Linked DNA regions of Homo sapiens: region 1 is linked to region 2. Evidence: promoter capture Hi-C in human tissues and cell types (Jung and others, 2019). All regions are on one chromosome and are shown on one strand. Each heading gives the region's core, a stretch centred on a gene start or on the middle of the fragment in contact. The rest is flanking DNA. Distances are from core to core; before and after follow the strand shown. Region 1 overlaps EEF2 (eukaryotic translation elongation factor 2). Region 2 holds the start of SLC39A3 (solute carrier family 39 member 3).

Region 1 (5,994 bases), core at 572-3,071, 1.2 Mb after region 2:
GGGCTTGTGGAATTTTAAGCATTAACAGGGAAGAAACGAGGTCTGGAGCAGGCCTGTCCCAACCCCTCCAGAGCATTTGTGTTGTTTGTGGACAGAAGACAGCAGGATGTAACTCAAAAACTGCCCCGGAGGCCGGGCGTGGTGGCTCACGCCTGTAATCCCAGCACTTTGGGAGGCCGAGGCGGGTGGATCACGAGGTCAGGAGATCCAGACCATCCTGGCTAACACGGTGAAACCCCGTCTCTACTAAAAATGCAAAAAATTAGCCGGGCATGATGGCAGGCGCCTGAAGTCCCAGCTACAGGAGGCTGAGGCAGGAGAATGGCGTGAACCTGGGAAGCAGAGCTTGCAGTGAGCCAAGATCACGCCATTGCACTCCAGCCTAAGCAACAGAGCAAGACTCTTGTCTCAAAAAAAAAAAAAAAAAAAAAAAAAAAATAGCCCTGGGCCAGGCATGGTGGCTCACACCTGTAATCCCAGCACTTTGGGAGGCCGAGGCAGGGGGATCACGAGGTCAGGAGATCGAGACCATCTTGACTTACTAACACAGTGAAACCCCGCCTCTACTAAAAATACAAAAAAAAATTAGCCGGGCGTGGTAGCACGCGCCTGTAGTCCCAGTTACTCAGGAAGCTGAGTGAGGCAAGAGAATCGCTTGAACCCGGGAGGTGGAGGTTCTAGCGAGCCAAGATCACGCCACTGCACTCCAGCCTGGATGACACAGCGAGACTATCTCAAAAAAAACAACAACAACAACAAAAACAGCCCCACATGCCTGTGGAAGACTGCAAAGAAGAAACTTGAGGAACTTAAGAAGCTGAGACCAAGACCGAGATCAAGTCTAGGCGTCTGCAGAGCCTAGCTCAGCTCAGCTTTAAAGCAGAGGGCAGGTGTCCGGGGTGGGGCGTGGGGAAGGCTGGTCACTGGCGCCTCACCTTGATGGGGATGCAGGCGTGGTCCTCCTCCAGGTCCTTCAGGCAGATCTCCAGGTGCAGCTCGCCGGCGCCCGCGATGATATGCTCTCCCGACTCCTCGATGATGCACTGAAAGGGATGCGGGTCAGCACCAAAGGGGTAGGCGGCTCGGAACAGGCGGGACCAGGCTCCCAGCTTCCCTTTAGCTAGGGACCCCGCCAGAACAAGATTTCAGGGAAGGTGCTGGGAAACTGGGACCAGCACAAACTCCTGAAGAAATGTTAAGTCCCACAAGCTACAGTGAACACGCGCAGAGCAGCCTAGGAGAGGGTGGTGGCTGCCTGGGCAGGAGTCTCCATTTACAGCCACAGCCAAGAACCCCTCCTTTCATGACCAGTCACCCCAATCCACCAACCACAGCAACCCACACAGCCACAACTCAGGACACAAGCCGTCCCCCCTCAGGGTGTCTGCTCCCAGCAGGTGCACTCCGTGCCCACCTGCACCATGGGGTCGGACTTGGCCAGCCGCTTCAGCCCCTCCACCAGCTTGGGCAGGTCAGCCGGGTTCTTGGCCTCCACGGCCACTCTGACAACAGGGCTGACGCTGAACTTCATCACCCGCATGTTGTGCGCGTGCTCGAAGGTGGTGATGGTGCCCGTCTTCACCAGGAACTGGTCCACGCCCACGAGGCCCACAATGTTCCCACAAGGCACATCCTCGATGGGCTCCACGTAGCGGCCCATCATCAAGATTGTTCTGGAAGAAGCAGAAGGCGGCAGCAGGCCGCAGGGATGGTTGTGCTGGACCCTGGAGGGCCAGGGCAGGTCCCTCCCGGAGTTGGTGGCCCTCCTGCCAGGTCCCAGGGCAGACTGGTGGCTTCCACAAGGCCCTGACTGCTGCGTCGGGGCTGTCAGGAAACATCCTCTTCAGAATCACTGCCCTCCTCCCTGGGTATGGGTCGACGGCCGCCACCCACCTGTGCCCAGGGACACAGATGAGCAGGGGTGTGCTGTGCCCTGGGGCTTGGAGCTTCTCCAGAAATGCCCTCACTGGGCTAAGAACAAAAGTTGTGGCTGGCACAAGTATCACCCTATATTCCTTCTATGCTCCTTACTTCTAGCTCCCGACTGAGGAGCCCAAGACTTGGAGCAGGGCAGGGCCCGCAACAGTGCCAAGGGGCCTGCACATCACCCAGCTGCTCACCTCTGGATTGGCTTCAGGTAGAGGTCCTCCTTCTTCCCAGGGGTATAGTTGGGCCCCATGATCCTGACCTTCAGGCCAGTGGAGACCAGCCCCGAGAAGACTCGTCCAAAGGCGTAGAACCGACCTTTGTCGGAGGTTGGCACCATTTTGGAAATATACATCATAAGAGGGCCTTTGGGGTCACAGCTTTTAATGCCTGAGGGACAGAGAAAACCCGCAAGCTTTATTCCAGTGCAGCTCAGCCTTCTGGAACCCTGCAACCCACAACCTTGGGCAACAGGAAGTCATCCGGCTGCATCTCAGGGCCCGGCCACCGGGACCACGTACCCATGGCAGCCTCGTCGTCCGGGGGCCCCTCGTACAGGAGCTCGCAGCGGTACTTCTGGGCCGTCACAGGGGAGGGCAGGTGGATGGTGATCATCTGCAACAAGGCGTCTCCGGCAGGCAGCCAGCGGCGCATCACAGCCTGCGGGGGCAGAGAGCGGTGCATGAGACACCTGGGGAGCCCAGGATGGCCCCACCCCGTACACGCTTCCTCTCTTGAAGCCAAGGAAGCCAAAGTCAGGACTAACGTTCTCCAAAGCACAGTCCCTTCTGGAAGGCGGCAAAGGCCATGCACACTCCTGCCAAGGCCCTCACCCACACCTGTCCCGGATGGGGCTGGCTGCTGGGATGTGTCTCCAGCAGCACCCAGAGTCTAAAGCGAAAGGGGCAGCAGCTGTCCCTGCCCAGCTGAGGACTTCAGCCCCCAGGCCTGGGCTGTCAGAGCATCCGGAAACAGCAGCCTGTGTTCCCTCCACCCCGAGGGCTGGGCCCAGGCCGCACCTTCAGCAGGGGTTTGCCTTCTTTGTCCTTGTCCTCGCTGTCCAGTTTGATGTCCAGTTTCTCTATCAGTTTTGCTGTCTCCTCTTTCTTGAAATTCATGATCGCATCAAACACCTACATTCCCCACCAAGAAACAAGAAAGCCCATTTGGGAACAGCAGGAGGAAGCCTGGCACTGCTTCCTGCTTGGAAGACTCAGGTCAGCGCAGGGGGACGCAGCACGGGAGCAGGAGCAGGCCTGGCCTGCCTACCACGGGCCCAGCCAGCTGAGCGGATCGGGAGCTGGAGGAAACCTCGTGGTGGAGCAGAGGAAAAAGCCCACTCTGACTCAGACAAGGACCCAAGTTCTGACTTACAAGCACTGAACCGCCAAAGCCACAAGTTATTCAACCCCCTCAATGCAGGAGAGGTCCCAAGGCTCTGGCTATGCAGTCCAGATCTTAAGAGAGGAGCCCTGACTCCACCTCAGTTAGGAGCTGTGCCTCCTCCCATCTCGCATCTGCCCCACAAGGAGACGGGCCCAGTCAGCCGACAGGCTACCGGCCGGAGCCCACAGGGCCGAGGGCCAATAGTCGCATCGGCGGGGTGCCTGGCGCAGCCCTCACTCACCTTGAAGATGGGGTCCAGGATCAGCTGGCAGAAGGTGCGTGGCAGCTTCTTCCCTTCGGGGCTGGTGGCTGACTTGCTGAACTTGCCGTTGGCTGGGTCAAAGTACCTGGCAAGGAGAGGCCAAGCCAAATCAAGTTAGGGTCTCCAGGGGATGACTTGGGGAGGGTGGTCGCCAAGGGGACATGCTTGGGCAAGACCTGGTGGGCTTGAGCCACGCTGTGAATAGCACACCACGCCCCTACGTCGCTGCCACTACCCCCAGGTGTCAGGAATCCCCCACCATATCCCGCGGGGCTCACCTGTCACCCCACAGCTTCTTCATCATGTCCTCTACTTTCTTGGCCCGCTCGGCAGGCCCCAACTGGCCCTCCCCCTTGGCGGCGAACTTGGCCACATACATCTCGGCAAACTGCTTCAGGGTGAAGGCCCACCCGTGGAGGCCAGACCCAAAGCCCACGGTACCGAGGACAGGATCGATCTGGAAGTGTGAGAAACGAGAAGCAGCCGTGAGGGCCCCTGCGCAGAGCCTGAAGCTACGGGCTGGGCGCCTTGGGCATGGGCCTCAGACGCAGGCTTTCTTCAGTAGACATCTGGTCAAAGTGAAGAAATGATCAGTCATCACGAATAGGGGGGCCAGCCCCTCCACCACCCAGGGCAGCGTTCCCTGAGCTCGTCTCTTCCAGCTGCCCAAAGATCAAGGGCTGGGTCAAGTCGGATGAAAACATTCCAGCCCCCTTCTCTGTCACCCAACATTCCTGGCAAAAACACACTTCCAGTCCCCCTCAGCTCAACTCCACTCCCCACCGGCTCCTGCAGATCCCGCTGCGGCAAGCCCACCACCCAGCTAGGGAGGGCCGTACCATGATGTTGCCCATGGGGCCGCTCTCGCCCTCGCCGTAGGTGGAGATGATGACGTTCACGTTCTCCACGATGCGCTGGAAAGTCTGGTAGAGCTCCTCGGGCTCCAGCTGCAGCTCCAGCAGGGCGCGGTCCATCTTGTTCATCATCAGCACAGGCTTGATGCGCTCGGCAATGGCCTGCCGCAGCACTGTCTCCGTCTGCACGCACACGCCTGGGGACACGGGGGACAGGGCGGCGCTGTCATCCTCAAGCAAGGATGGCCCCCGGTTCCAGGCCGTGCCTCAGGGGGACCCACTGCTTACCTGACACGCAGTCCACCACCACCAATGCGCCATCGGTGACTCGGAGGGCAGCAGTCACCTCCGAGGAGAAGTCGACATGCCCGGGGGAGTCAATGAGGTTGATGAGGAAGCCGGCACCGTCCTTGCTCTGCTTGATGAAGTTCAAGTCATTCTCCGAGAGCTCGTAGAAGAGGGAGATGGCACTGATGGAGGGAGGGACTCGTCAGGGGGACAGGAGCCACACACCTGGCCCAGGGAGTCTGGGATGCTGTCAGAAGCCAGGCTGCTCCTCCCTCCATGACTCATCCCTGGAGAGGCTCCCACAAGAGCCAACCCACCCTTGTCCTTTGCCTCTGTCCGAGACATGCCACCCCCATGACAGGGAACTCCTGGTACCAGCCCCATAGCCAGATCCTCAGAGCCCTCCTGACCAGACATCCTGCCCCACCGACTTGGTCCCAAGATTCATCACACCTGACTCAAAGTAGCAACTAAAAGACCCAGCAGGACGGCAAAAGCCTCCAGAGACTCCGACCCTCCCCTCCTCACTTCTGCCCCTGCTCCAGGGGAAATGAAGAGCCTTAGCCAGAGTCCCTCACCAATGTACCAACCCAGGACAAAAAGCAGTTGGGGTCACCGTACTCTGCGCTCCCCCTACTCATATCGGGGCCAGAAACTGACATGGAATGAACATCATCCAGTGCAACACAGGAGCTTCCCAGCGTCCCAAGCACTAGAACACCCTCCCCTCCCAGGTGTGACAGCCAAACCTCTCCAGATATTGTAGGAGTGGGGGCAAGTCCCCCAGGGAGGGAGAACCACGGAGTTAAGCCCCCTCCTCAAGAAAACCTTCCAGCTCGCAGTACCCCGAATCCCTGTGCCTCTCCATCCTGTCTCGCTGGACTGAACCTCACTCATTCTCCCATGAATTAAGAAACCAGGGGAAAGAGACGTTGCCAAGTCTCTCCCCGCGCACCCTGGCCCAGTGGCCTCCAGCTGCCAGGCCAGCACCTCCCTGCCTGGGTACAGAGGGCACAGGGAGCTCACGTTGACTTGATGGTGATGCAACGCTCCTGCTCGTCCTTCCGGGTATCAGTGAAGCGTGTCTCCCCGGCCCGGGCCGAGGCGATGATGCCCGCCTTGCACACCAGGGAGTCTGTCAGCGTGGACTTGCCATGGTCCACGTGGGCGATGACAGACATGTTGCGGATGTTGGCCTTCTTGTCCATGATGGCGCGGATCTGGTCTACCGTGAAGTTCACCTGGGCAAGACAAGGAGGCTCAGACCAGCTCGTGATT
Region 2 (5,521 bases), core at 91-2,590:
AGGTGGGCAGATCACCTGAGGTCGAGAGTTCGAGACCAGCACCTGAGGTCGAGAGTTCAAGACCAGCCTGGCCAACACAGTGAAACACTGTCTCTACTAAAAATACAAAAATTAGCTGGGTGTGGTAGTGGGCACCTGTAATCCCAGCTACTTGGGAGGCTGAGGCAGGAGAATCACTTGAACCCAGGAGGTGGAGGTTGCAGTGAGCCAAGATCAAGCCATTGCACTCCAGCCTGGGTGACAGAGTAAGACTCTGTCTCAAAAAAAAAAAAAATTAGCTGGGCATGGTGGTACGTGCCTGTAATCCCAGTTACTCGGGAGGCTGAGGCAGGAGAATTGCTTCAACCCAGGAGGTGGAGCTTGCAGTGAGCCGAGATCGCGCCATTGTACTCCAGCCTGGGCTGCAGAGCAAGACTCCGTCTCAAAAAAAAAAAAAAAAAAAAAAAAAGGGCCTCCCTCTCTGCCCCTGGCTGACTCCTGCCCTAAACCATATCCCTGTACCCGCCGGAAGGCCTGCTGCAGAACAGATACTCAAAAACCGCTGGCTGAACACATGGACGAGGGGAAGCGTGTGGCCACTGATAAGGGCCGCATTTTACCTGATGCAATGGGCCAAAGTGAAGTCGGTTTCACCCTGGACCCCAAAATGTCACCGTTCTTAGGAGGAATCTCAGCTCCTCCCCTGTCCTTGAGTTTTCCCCAACTGGGTTTTCTCCCCCACCATCAGCCCCAAGCGCCTCATGGCCCCGCTACCTCACTGCATTCAGGTCTTCGGGTCACTGCTCAGATGTCTCCACTCAGAGCTCTCCCCGCCCCCTTCCCTGGTGTTATTTTCTTTTATTTTGTGCTACAGAGGGAGCTAGGAATTACATTATTTTAAGTCATTTAAAGTCGTCCCTCCCCCCCGGCGGTGAGCTGGGCGGGACCAGGCTGTCTGTCTTGCTCAGGGCCAGCTGCACCCAGCGCAGAGCCACCCAGGCACACAGTAGGCGCCCAATAAAGACCTGTCCGGCATCTGGATACCTCAGTCTGTACAGTGAAGGTGAGGGTGGCCTGCACGCTCTCAAACCGGAGGCTGCTCGGGCCGGGATGAGGAGGGCACGGGCTCATTCATTCAATCAGCACTTATTGAGCGCCTTCTGTGTGCCTCGCGCTACCGGGCACCGGAGACGGGCCTCGGCTAACGTGCGGGTAGAGTCCAACAGACCCCCGGCCGCTCAGCGCCGCCCCGCCCCGCCGCCCCAGGTCCTCTCTCTGCCCGCACCTACCTCCCGGGGGCCCCTCGTCCGCCGACTGGCGCCGCTGCACGCCCAACGGCCGCGCAGTCTCGACCCCACAGACGCGGCCCGGAGAGGCCCCGCTCGGCGCGGCTGGTCCACGCCCCGCCCACGCCCCTGCCCATTGGCCTCCCCGAGACCCGCTGGCAGAACTTTCCATACTATTGGCTGCGAAACCTGCCACTCATATGCGACTCCACCTCTCCTACCGGCACAGGAAAGGGGTTTCCTCCCGCTGAGCGGCGGGCGCAGCCACCAAGCGGCCCCGGCGGGAAACCCGGATTGGCGAGGAACGGTTCCGGCAGGGTTGGGTTTCCAGAGCTGTCCAGGGGCGCCTGGTGCTGAATCCCGCTTGGAAAGAGGCTTGGAGGTGGATGGGAAGGGATTTCCAACGGAGGCGGCTCCTCTCTCAGCGTCCTCGCTGCTGATCCCCTTACCGACGGCTGAAGAAGCAGATTCATCCCTTCAACAAATCTCTGTTGATAGGCAGGAGGAGTAAGTCCAAGAGATCGACTGTACATCATGGTGGCTACAGCTCGTAACAATGCATTGCATACTGCAAAATTGCTAAGAAAGTAGATGTTACATGTTCAAACCATGAAAAAATAAGTATAGGAGGTAACGCGTAAGTTAAAAACCAAATCTTGGCAGGGCGCAGTGGCTCACACTTGTAATCTCAGCACTTTAAGAGACCGAGGCGGGAGGATCGCTTGAGTCCAGGAGTTCAAGGCCAGCCTGGGCAGCATAGTGAGACCCCATCTCTAAAAAAAAAAAAAAGGTTTTTTTTGAGACAGAGTCTCGCTCTTGTCACTCAGGCTGGAGTGCAATGGCGCGATCTTGGCTCACTGCAACTTCCGACTCCCGTGTTCAAGCGATTCTCCTGCCTCAGCCTCCCGAGTAGCTGGGATTATAGGCGTGTGCCACTATGCCGGCTAATTTTTGTGTTTTTAGTAGAGACGGGGTTTCACCATGTTGGCCAGGCTGGTCTTGAACTCCTGACCTCAGGTGATCCTCTTACCTTGGCCTCCCAAAGTGCTGGGATTACAGGCATGAGCCACTGCGCTTGGCCTGATGACTTGATTCTAACAAATAGAAAATGGCAAATGAATGGGATGTCATTCTGCGATTAGGCTATGAGAGATTGTGACTTCTGTTTTGCCAGCAGAGCCTGTCTCTCGCCTTCTCAGCCTACGTGTCTTGACAAAGCAAGCTAAGATGCTGGAGAGATCCAGAGGGAAAGGAACTGAGGGTGTCCTCCAGCCAACAGTCAGCAAGGCAATGAGACCCTCAGCACAAGCGTCCATAAGGAACCAAATGCTACCAACAGCCATGAACGTGATCATGGAAGAGGGTCCTGCCCCAGTTGAGCCTTTGGATGACTGCTTCACTTCAATTGCAGCCTTTGAAACACCCTAAAACAGGGCTGCATGTGGTAGCTCATGCCTATAATCCCAGCACTTTGGAAGGCCGAGGTAGGCAGGTCACTTAAAGTCAGGAGTTTGAGACTAGCCTGGCCAACACGGCAAAACCCCATCTCTACTAAAAATACCAAAATTAGCCAGGCATGGTGGCGGGCACCTGTAGTCCCAGCTACTAAGGAGGCTGAGGCATCAGAATCACTTGGACCCAGGAGGCAGAGGTGACAGCGAGCTGAAATCATTACCATTACACTCCAGCCTGGGCAACAGAGTGAGACCCTGTCTCAAAAGAAAAAAAAAGAAGAAGAAGAAGAAGAAAGAAAGAAAAACAAAGACCCTGAAAACAGAAGACCCATATGAACTGCATCTGAATTCCTCACCCACAGAAACTGAGATAACACATGCTGTTCTAGCCACTTAGTTTTGTGTTTGTTTGCTTGTATTTTGAGACAGGGTCCTGCCCCATCACCCAGGCTGGAGTGCAGTGGTGCAATCACAGCTCACTGCAGCCATGACCTCCTGGGCTCAAGCAGTCCTCCCACCTCAGCCTCCCGAGTAGCTGGGAGCATGTGCCACCATGCCCAGCTAATTTTTTACCTAATGTCACACAGGCCAGTCTTGAACTCCTGGATTCAGGAAACCCTCCCACCTCAGCCTCCCAAAGTGCTGAGATTACAGGCATGAGCCACAATGCCTGCTGGCACTAAGTTTGGGGGAAAATTTGTCATATGGCAGTAGGTAACTAATACACATACATACTAGAAAAACTATAGGTTGTACTAAGTTCTGTGAAGAAAGAATGAGAGAGACTTCTGTGCAGGAATTAGCCAAGTCAAATGTACTGAGAAGGCCAGGTGTGGTGGCTCACACCTATAATCCCAGCACTTTGGGAGGCTGAGGTGGGTGGATCACTTGAGGTCAGGAGTTCAAGACCAGCCTGGCCAACATGGTGAAACCCTGTCTGTACCAAAAATATAAAAATTAGCAGGGCGTGGTGGTGGGCGCCTGTAATCCCAGCTACTCGGGAGGCTGAGGTAGGAGAATCGCTTGAACCTGTGAGGTGGAGGTCGCAGTGAACCGAGATCATGCCACTGCACTCCAGCCTGGGCGACAGAGCAAGACTCCGTCTCAAAAAAAAAAAAAAAAAAGAAAAAAAAGTACTGAGAAGTGGGGAGAGAAGAGAGGATAGTTGACAAAAAGATGGAGAAGGGCTTGCTGCATTTGAGGAGTTGGAAAGCCAGCCTGGCTGAATGTTCGTGAGCAGTAGGGAGATGGGAGATTAGGGACAGTCCCATAGACCGTGCTATGGAACTTGGATTTTACCGTAATTACAGTGTGATTCATTGAAGGATTTTAAGTAGGTGAAGGTTGTCATCTAATTTTAATTCTTAAGATTATTTTGACTCGTGTGTAAAGAAAGGCTGAATTATAGAGAAGCAAGAATGGAAGCAGGGAGACTACTTCAGAGCCCTCTGGGCAAGAGTTGGGCTGGGTGCCTTGGCGCACACCTGTAATCCTAGCACATTGGGAAGCCATTGCAGGAAGATCGCTTGAGCCCAGGAGTTCGAGACCAGCCTGGGCAACATAGTGAGACCCTATCTCTATTTCTAAGAAAAGACTTGACGGTAGTTTAGCTGAGGGCATTGACAGGAGAAAGGACAGTGGGTGAATTTGAGAAATATTTTGGAGGGTGAATTGACAGGACTTAGCACTGGTTTGTCTGTGTGGGTTGCAGGAGAAGGAGGTGTTGGGGGTGACTTCTGGTTTTCTGCTTTGAGCCATCCGATGGATTCTGGTGCTCACTAAAATAGGAAAGACTGGAGGAGGCACAGAGATTGAAAGCGTCAAAAGACAGAGTTCAGTTTCACAGAGGCTATAAATGAGACATCTACAAGTTCTTAGCATTTAATGCCATTTTCTGCCTGCGTGGCGCTGATGTCATCATGTGGAACACACTGTTTCTGGTAGCTATTTTTATTATTAGATGCAGAGTGATCTGACTCTGTTTCTGCTTTCCATAACTCACGACAAGAAAAAGATGGCTTGTAACATAAGCACACCAGGTAGACGCCACAGGACGACTCCTTCCTAAGGGGAATTCATAGCATGCGATATTTATTCATAATTGTTTGGAGAATCAGCCTGCTCAGGGAAAGAGCTACGTAAGCTTTGGGCTTTGATTCATTCAGTACGTGTTTTTGAAAACCTCCTGTGCACCAGAAGCCATGTAGGAGCAGATGTCTTCAGAGCGCAACAGAAAAAAAATACTAATAAAATATAAAATAACATAAAAGCAGCACAGTGGTGCATACCTATAATCCCAGCACTTTGGGAGGCTGAGGTAGGAGGATCTCTTGAGCCCAGGAGTTGGAGACAAGCCTGGGCAAGATGATGAGACCCTATCTCTATAAAAAAAAAATACTGACAAATTGACTGACTTCAGTATTTCAAAAATCTTCCATAGTAAAAAACACCATGAATGGGCTTAATAGACAAGTGACAGACTGGGAGAAAAATGTTGATACTATATGAGACAGAGCCCTTGATAGAAAATAGAAAATAAACATCTTAAAATAAAAATAGGAAGGGTGATGAATGAGCAATTCACAGGGGAACCAATATAAGAGGTGAATAAATATAAGAAAAGAGTCTCAATCCATGAAGATAATCATGAAAATACAAAATAAAACAAGGGGCCAGGCACGGTGGCTCACACCTATAATCCCAGTACTTTGGGAGGCTGAGGCAAGAGGATAACTTGAGCCCTGGAGTTCAAGACCAGCCTGAGCAACATAGTGAAACCCTGTCTCTTCAAAAGAAAAAAAT

The links. The method cuts DNA at HindIII sites, captures the fragments that hold promoters and counts their contacts. A contact is called where the count stands out against the background at its distance.
Region 1: a contact is called between a fragment that was not itself captured here and the fragment with the promoter of SLC39A3 in region 2, in 1 of the 25 tissues and cell types used here (aorta).

Annotation. Positions count from the first base shown.
Region 1 is chr19:3,978,394-3,984,387 of GRCh38, forward strand. EEF2 (eukaryotic translation elongation factor 2) reads right to left here. Exons shown (of 15, transcript NM_001961.4): 2 at 5,743-5,957; 3 at 4,717-4,898; 4 at 4,414-4,625; 5 at 3,853-4,031; 6 at 3,554-3,659; 7 at 2,946-3,059; 8 at 2,448-2,586; 9 at 2,121-2,316; 10 at 1,415-1,673; 11 at 936-1,043. SNORD37 (small nucleolar RNA, C/D box 37) reads right to left here and starts at 4,179; the gene lies at 4,114-4,179. RefSeq lists enhancers at 3,080-3,931, 5,636-5,994, 5,781-5,994. The HindIII fragment of the contact is 5,039 bases long and covers 1-4,341 here.
Region 2 is chr19:2,738,677-2,744,197 of GRCh38, forward strand. SLC39A3 (solute carrier family 39 member 3) reads right to left here and starts at 1,341. Exons shown (of 3, transcript NM_144564.5): 1 at 1,269-1,341. RefSeq lists silencers at 437-704, 1,113-1,512 and enhancers at 823-872, 1,573-1,622. The HindIII fragment of the contact is 11,347 bases long and covers 1-5,521 here.